Linked DNA regions of Homo sapiens: all the other regions are linked to region 2. The links are contacts of gene promoters, found by promoter capture Hi-C in human tissues and cell types (Jung and others, 2019). All regions are on one chromosome and are shown on one strand. The core of a region is centred on a gene start or on the middle of the fragment in contact, and the rest is flanking DNA. Distances in the headings are between cores, read along the strand shown. Region 1 has its middle 45 kb from the start of TNIP3. Region 2 holds the start of NDNF (neuron derived neurotrophic factor). Region 3 has its middle 41 kb from the start of NDNF-AS1.

What was found. The method cuts DNA at HindIII sites, captures the fragments that hold promoters and counts their contacts. A contact is called where the count stands out against the background at its distance.
Region 1: a fragment that was not itself captured here is called in contact with the fragment with the promoter of NDNF in region 2 in 1 of the 25 tissues and cell types used here (aorta).
Region 3: a fragment that was not itself captured here is called in contact with the fragment with the promoter of NDNF in region 2 in 3 of the 25 tissues and cell types used here (H1 embryonic stem cells, heart left ventricle and psoas muscle).

The regions. Positions count from the first base shown.
Region 1 is chr4:121,117,693-121,120,392 of GRCh38, forward strand. No RefSeq gene overlaps it. Among named protein-coding and RNA genes, the nearest start is that of TNIP3, 45 kb to the right of the region's middle. The HindIII fragment of the contact is 3,345 bases long and covers 1-2,700 here.
Region 2 is chr4:121,071,190-121,073,889 of GRCh38, forward strand. It overlaps NDNF (neuron derived neurotrophic factor), which reads right to left and starts at 1,346. Exons shown (of 4, transcript NM_024574.4): 1 at 804-1,346. NDNF-AS1 (NDNF antisense RNA 1) reads left to right here and starts at 173. Exons shown (of 3, transcript NR_187407.1): 1 at 173-391; 2 at 2,561-2,675. The HindIII fragment of the contact is 5,612 bases long and covers 1-2,700 here.
Region 3 is chr4:121,028,589-121,031,288 of GRCh38, forward strand. No RefSeq gene overlaps it. Among named protein-coding and RNA genes, the nearest start is that of NDNF-AS1, 41 kb to the right of the region's middle. The HindIII fragment of the contact is 4,458 bases long and covers 1-2,700 here.

The DNA.
Region 1 (2,700 bases), core at 152-2,651, 47 kb after region 2:
AGGTGTGCACCACGATGCCTGGCTATTTTTTTTTTTTTTGTATTTTTAGTAGAGATGGGGTTTCACCATGTTGGCCAAGCTGCTCTTGAATTCCTAACCTCTAGTGATCTGCCTGCCTCCACCTCCCAAAATGCTAGGATTTCAGGCGTGAGCCACTAGGGTTTTATATTTTTAATTTACCATCTATTCCATCTATAATATGTTCTTCAGCTACAATGTATCTTCAAAACATTTTTTTTTAGAACTTCACATGAGTGATATATTTTCTGAGCTCCTATATACAGTGTGTGTGTGTGTGTGTGTGTGTGTGTGTGTGTGTGTGCGTGTGTGTGTGTGACAGAGAGAGAGAGAGCATTCACGCATGTTACAAGATTTTGGCAAGTACATTGGTTCACAATATTTTTTCTGCAAAACTTTATGGGACTTCTCCCTCACTTTTGGGAGCCAGTCTGGCCACAGAGGGATACTGTTTCCATGTGGAAGGCTCAGTGATGCATCCCTGGCCCTGTGAGGGCCGTGCAGTCCAACATCACTGGTTCTGGATCAATAAGAGGAGTTCCACGTGAAGTGTAATCTTCAAAACACCCAAGGCAGTGATAGCCAGTGGAAAAGGAAGAAGGAAAAACATCTTTTCATCTTAGGAAAGTTTGTGAAGAGCAAAAAACAAATGTAGTGATTTTGATGAATGTCAGGAGCATAACAAAGCAAAGACAAGCCCCTTTCCCTTGTGGGCTATTGGAGCTGATTTGATGCAATTGAAGAATACTGTACAGAGAAGCTTCTTCTGCTGTGAACTATGTGCTAAGATCCAGAAACTCAAGAAAACAACTTAATGACTCTTATTCCAGGAAGAGCATGGCAATTTTCAGAAAAGTGTTCTCTGCTGGCCTGGTTGAGGGTCATGATGCAGCTAGAGTGGCTGCTAATTTACCAAAGATGGCTTCGATGCTTCAAAGACATTGACACTAAGGCTGGTTTCTGGCTGCGATATTCCTGGGGTTCCCAATGAATGAAGCTAATTGGTTTTGCTCAGAGTGACAGGTGATGACTGCTCTTTGATGTCTTCCTTTCTCCACCTCACCAATCAACCTCCTACCTTCCCTCTTTCTGCCTACTCCCTCTTCCTCCTACTTCCAGACACTTGTGAAAACAGGAGATTGTGAAAAGACCAGCTTAGATGAGAGGAGGAGAAAAAGAATTTGTTTTTAAGCTTATTACATTCTGAGTTCAGTTTCTTATTCTAGCAATCCACAGTGCAAGAACATGAAAATGCCACACCTGTCTGGCTGTTGCTAACTTTTCCAAGCTGCCATATTCTTAGTAGTGAATTTGGATATCTTTTATAAAGAATCTGAAATGCACTTAGATGTCATGTTTATAGGTGCAAAAACACTTTCAGAAAGTTATCTGAAGAAATTTCTTTTTATCATAAGCTTAGTTCTTTCACTGTTAAATTTCTGTTAGGATACTTCAATTGTCCATCTGACTATTTTATGGTATACTTAGAATTGAACAAATACGTTAAATTAGGATTTACTAGACAAAGTAGAACGTTTGTTTTAAAATTGTGAGATTTATAAAAGTTTTCACAGATTTAGCTACAAAGGAAAGAACACTTGGAGTATATACTTCCTATCAGTAATTTCCTGTCACTTAAACAACAGTTTCAAGTATATTTTTGACATATTTGTACTTCCATTTTTTTAGGATCTGAGATGCATATTTTGTGAAAACTGATTGACAGCCTGATTGTCTCTTGAAAATTGTAGGTGCTTTGCAGGCCTTAATATCAGGAACATTCCTGAAGCTAATTTACTCTGAAATATTGTCAGACCTTCCAAATTTCTCTATGTTAACATGTAAGTTAGGCTTCATCAGGATGCCTAAAAACTATAATATGAGATCAAAAGCTGTCATTCTGCTAGATTGCTAACTCTATAACCACATTTGTGATTTAGCTTCTCCTTAAGTGATATAATTTGCTTTTCTAAAGGAGATAATCTTAAAAACACTGGAATCAGAGTTTTACTTAAAATTCTTCAGAACTGCAAAATGAAAATTATAAAAAGGATTTTGTGTAATGGCCAAAAGGCAAAATGCTCTTAGTTTTCAAAAGTAAACACTTCTGACTCAAGTGGTCCTCAACTTTGAATTGTGGCCTGTAGAATACGAAACTGATAAATCTTCAGAATTTCAAAATTGAAAGATAAACTCTCAGAGAGGCAGACTCCTTGAATGTGCCATTGCTACATTCTAACTAACCCTAGATATGGTAGTACTTTGATGTATTTTTTTAAAGTGCAAGTACATTACTAAGAAATAAGGTACTTCTAATTGCTTACCATAAATTAAGATATTTTGGGACCATTTATATAAATTTAATGTAATTTCAATATTTTTCTCTAATTTAAACTGCCAAATTGTGACAGCTTTACTACTGTGTTTTATATAATGAGGGCAAGACTACTAGAGGCGCTGAAAGACCAAGGAATATATCGAAAATTAAAAGGAGCTTCAGTCTCCCTTTGCTTCATTGCATCGTCTCATGGCTGCTAATAATTTTCCTCTGACAATAGAAAACGTAGGAAATATCTCTATTTCTTTCTCATCACCCATCACTGTACATACAGTATAGTTTTCTGAAAATGAAAGAAACTTCTAATAAATGATATTGACAAACAGTAAGATCCAAAATAGATA
Region 2 (2,700 bases), core at 96-2,595:
CACAGACAGGACGAGGGCACGAAGCCGAGTCTCCTGGCTGGGGCCGTAGGGGGCGTCACCTCGGTGGCCGCTCTGCTCTCCGGAAGAAAGTATGAGCCGGTCCCAGGCCACCTCGCTCAGCCCAAGGAAGTTTCTATAACGATGCTCGCCTACCACGCAGAGGACAAATGAGGAGCCAGAGCGGTTGGGGGTCGGGCCAACCGAACTCCCGGCCCCGGCTGCGCAGCTCCCAGACGCCCACCAAGAACTCGTGCGCTGCCTGGACCTCTAGCTTTTCGCCCTACACGCAGACGCCCTCTGCAAAACCCCAGTCCCGCAGACTTTCCCTAGCGGCGGGCGGAGGGCATGAACCTGGAAAGGGAGGCAACAGCCCTCTTGGCAGGCGGGCAAAGTAAGTGTCCAGGCTAAGTCCGGGATAAAGGCTCCGCGGCTCCCCAGACCCCACTGCACCCCGAGCTCCCGGGTCCCAGGTCTTCCCCGCCCTTGCGCTGTCTGTCCACCTCCTCACATCTCTCCGGGCCGCCCAGCTTCGAAAGCAGCTAAATTAAAAACAAACAAACAAACAAACAACAACAACAATAAAAAAAAAAAAACGAGGGAAACCTGCTCCTGCCCCTCATGCCCTCAGCTCCTACGGATAGGGCGCCCTTGAGAAGCTTCTTGGGCCTTGAAGATTTGGGGGCGCGTGCCTCGAGCCCCCATCTCGGATGACCCTTCGGGCGTGAACGCTCCTTGTGCTAGGTCTCAGGGTGGCGGGCTAAGGCGTCGGGTCTCTGGGGCATTGCTTTCCTCTCCCCACTTACCTTAAAAAGATCTGTTTTTCGTAGGGAAAATAGAAAAAAATCCCTCCCCGTGGTGTGGTGTGCGAAATAGTCCACGTCCCCGGACCCTGCCAAGATGCTAAGCACCAATATCCAGGAACGAGAAGCCTGGAGGGCGGGGACGGAGGCAGATAAAAGAGAAAAATTCAATCCGCTGAAGTGTCCCAACTTTGCGGTCGGCACAGCAAACTTCAAAGGCGGGCGAGGGCGGGCGGCGCGCGGTCGCCGAAGTTGCTGCGAAGTGGAGTAGGGAGCCGCGCGGGGCTGGGGAATCCCGGGGCAGCGCCGAGAAGCGGCGGGAGGTCCTTTTAAACTGCAGGGAGCGTGCGGGGGCTGGGCGGCGGGAGGATGCCGCAGCGACCCGCGGGGCTGGCGCGGGCTTCGCCGGCCGCCGCTAGTCGCACAGGCGCCTGGCTGGAGCGCCGCGCGGGGTGCTGGGAGAGCCGGGCGCACGGGGCGGCAGCGGCCGTGGCGGGTGCGCTGCTCAGTTAGCTCCACTCTCTCGCGGCTGGAAGTGGGGAGTGTGTGTTCGCTCCCGAGTGTCACTGCTGAAGCCCGGAGTCTCTTCCCCTCCCAGCCCTAACCCCTCCCGCCTCACCGCTGCCCGCCCGCCCCCTCCCTCCTCTGCCCGTTGCCTCCCCCTCCGTCCCTCCTTCTCTCCCTCCCGCTGCGCGCCAGCGCGCACGCACACACACACACACACACACACACTCATACACATACACACACTCACACACAGACACCCTCTCCCTCCTTTTCTCTCTCCCTGTAGCCCTCCCTCCCTCTCTTTCTCTCACACACACACCACCCTGCTCAGCGACCCAGCGCTCCCCAAACAGGACCCTCGCGGGCGGCATCGCGAGGGACACGCTGCTGTCCTAACCTTAGCGCCACTCGGGGAGAATGAAGGAGGCCCACCGAGCCCCCGACAAAGCTGCAAAACCCAGGAGACGCGCACGCGGGACCATCACACTGTCAAGCAGACCGGGGTGCACAATAGAGGGAAACTCTGGGGTTGATCTGGGGGCAGGGAGGGGGACGTGTTAAATCCAGAAGGTTGGTGGTTGGAGGCGGAAAGCAGAGTGTGCAAACTGTGCATTCATGTCCCACTTTTCACCCGAACGCCTGCCTATCACAGCCTTCACTCAGGGAGCGCTTCCCCCTCGGCGCAGACCGAGCCTCCTCCGATTTGAAACTCAGCAGCTGTTTTAACAATTGAAAAAGCGGCCCTACAGGACCAGTGAAACGGAGCAGAGTGTGTGAAGCCATTAAGGCTGACTAGGTAATTATGATAAAAAGTTACCTAATTAGCAACCTGGCCTGGGCTTAGGAAAACCAAGAAAAAAAAAGTACCGAATGATTTGGTGATCTCATTTTTGCAACTGAGAACCTGATTTCCAGCAAACCTGGTTTTATATAAGTTCTAATAATATATAATTATTTATTAAGATATAGTGTCAGTATTGAAAACACTAGTTCTGTTATTGCCACAATGAAATTAAGGTAGGTAGGATGAAAATCAGCCTTATCCCGGTCATATTAAGAACTATGATCTTTTTTGCTAAACAGTTGGTCACAGAGGGTGGACCAATGCAGCTCCTAAAGTTTTGTGGTTCCTAGATGAAAACACTGCAGGAAATGGATTTATAAAACCGTTTACACGACATAAAATAGTTTTGTAAAATTTTTAAACACTGAAAAGGACATTTCAGATCACTGTGCAAGCATATTTTTTGCAGATGAGACAATGAGGTGAGAAAAGTCCTCATTGTATCTCCACTTAGGAGATACGATCTAGAGCAGATCCCTGGGTCATTCATTAACAAAGCTTACGAAGTCCCTGCTGTGTACCAGGTATGTCTTATGTGCTGAGATTTAG
Region 3 (2,700 bases), core at 192-2,691, 43 kb before region 2:
GAATCAACACGGCCATCATTCCTCCCTAGCGCTGTCCAGGATGGAGTCCAACCAAACAAGCCCTGCTGATGCTACCTGAATCCTGTCATCAGCCCGCTCCTTTCCCATGCAGGACATGAAGATCACTAGCTCTCAGCCTGGGACTGTGGAAGTGGCTGTGTGAACTCCTTCACTTTGAAGTACATGAGGAAAAATTTATATAGAAACAAAAGTGTAATAAAGCAAATCACAAGAATGTCAATAGTAAGTATCTGATGTGCCATCAAAACAAGTGCTTTGTAGAACGAACACAAGTCTAACAAACTTTAAAAGTAGATTTGTGCCGATGAGTTCCTTGGAAAGCAGTCAGAGGATCTTTCCCAAAGGCAGTAAATAAGTATCATCCCTTCCTGCACTGGCGTTATCTAAAACCCTGAATTGGACACAGAACTGCACCCCATACTAGCTGCATGAAATTGGGGAAGTTACTTAACTTCTCTGACCCTTGGTTTCTTCATCAGTAAAATGTGGAAAATCAACAGTGTCTACTTCATAAGGTTGTTATGTGGATTAAAGAGATGCCTCAGCTCAGGCTATAACTATCATATCAGGATGTGGTATCTAATGAAGGCCCAGTAAACATCTGCTATTAAAAAATGATAACAGAAGTCAAACATGTGCAAGGGCAAAGCAGAAACAAAAACAAAGACAACCACAGACAACTCTTTATATGCTAAAAAACAAAAGCATTAAATAAAGGTTTATTAACATCATATTAAAGACACATTATGCCATATGTAAGCATTACATCAAACTCTATATAATAAGACACAAACAAATACCAAACAAAGTTTTTATGGTAGTATGAGTCACCATTAAAATGGGAAAGTTCTACACAATAAGAGCAACTTAGCAATACTTTGTCAATTATTCGTCTTCTGTCCCTAATGCTTGATATTTATCTATGTCAGAGAAAACTTGTTTATAAATATGCAGGCCAAGCTTTAATATACTTTGACTTTCTCCAGTTTTAGTAAGGGACTTGTCATGTATTCTATTCTGGTGAGATTCACTAAGTAGCACTAGAACTCACAAGCATACAGGTGGATGTGGAAAAACGCATTCATTTGGTACCAGATGTATCTGTGTTTAAATTCCAGCTCCATCTTGTATTAACTTTGTGACCTTGAGCACATTATATAATTTCTTTGTTCTTTGGGTTCCTCCTCTGCTTAATGAGAATACAATAATGTCTCCATCTCAGGGTTGTTACAAGGATTAAATAACGGTATTTCAAATGCTTGGCACTCAGTATGTGCTTAAAGGTTGTTAGTTTCCCTGCTTCTCCAAAAAGGAATCTAGGAGATCATCACCCTTCTCATTTTACAAATGAGAAAGCTCAAGCCCACAGAAGTTTAAGAAAATGCCCAAAGTCCCACTTCTGCACTCTTTCCTCTGCTGTCCTCTTATTAGCTTGCTTAACTTCAATAGAGAAGAGAAAACTCAGCAGAATCAAAAAGAATTCTTTTCCTCTTTTTAATATAGGTAAGCCACCAAGAGACTTTTAAAGTAGGAGTGAGTTTTATGAAAGGTAATAAGTAGTCTAAGAACTGTTTTAAATCCTCAGAGATATTAAAAACAGAAGTTCTGTTCTTCCAGTATTTCCATAGCAGAACATAAGTATTTTGTATGCTTTGGCACCAAAAAACTCCAGAACTGAGTATTTATCTGCACATTTTAACTCAAGCCTCCTGGAATGCTTGCCCATGGAATTGGCAAAGGAACTGGCATTCAGTATTTAGAGCAGCCAAGTTTGCTCAGACCACAGCTGTATTTGAAGCACAGCTCTCTGCCATTAGTCAATGGAACTTGCACAAAATTCAATTTAGATGTAAATGTTGTGATTCTTACCCAGCTTTCATATCTCTTTTATCTTTTTCCATACCTGATGATCACCCCAGGACAACCCAACAGAACCTGGGATCCTGTGCATAATAGAAGGCAAAATTCCGCAAGCTGTAATTTACAGCTTGACCTCTTTATTTGAAGAAGAATGACAAGCTTTATTCAGCAGGAAGGAGATATTCAATATTACTCTTTTAAAATAGTCAACCAAGAATCTGCTATTTCTTTAAAAATGTTTTTAAAGTTATATTTTACCATAATAAAACTGGTTGAATTTTATTTGGTTATTTAAAACATGTAAGTATGCTTGTTTGTCCCTCTCACTTAAAGTTCTTACCACATCCAGAAGAGCTGGAAACATCAAATGTTGCTGAAGCTACTGTAGCTACTGTGATACACGGAAACTCAACCATTGGAAATGGGCCATATTTGTGACTAGATCAGTTGCTGTTACCAAACTGCTCATGTAGCAATCTATGTCTATTGTTATAACTGTGACATTAGTTGAGCCACAATCTTGTTACTTCAGCCATATGGACCCACAGAGCGCAAACCAGGTCAGACAAATTCAGATGCCTGTGAGACATTTACCAGTGGTTCTTGAGGGTGGCATGCTTCTTCCAAAAACTGTTTGTTGGTCTGGCAATGTGGAAATTATCAGGCCTGCATGGTGAAAGGAACTAATATATTAATCCTATTTAAATAGGTCTGAGTTCATTTTATAGGAAAAGATGAGAATGAACAGTCAGTCAGACTTCTATGCCTATGATGTATTCATACACTTGGTTCTGTTTATTATAAACAATTTTTCTCAGA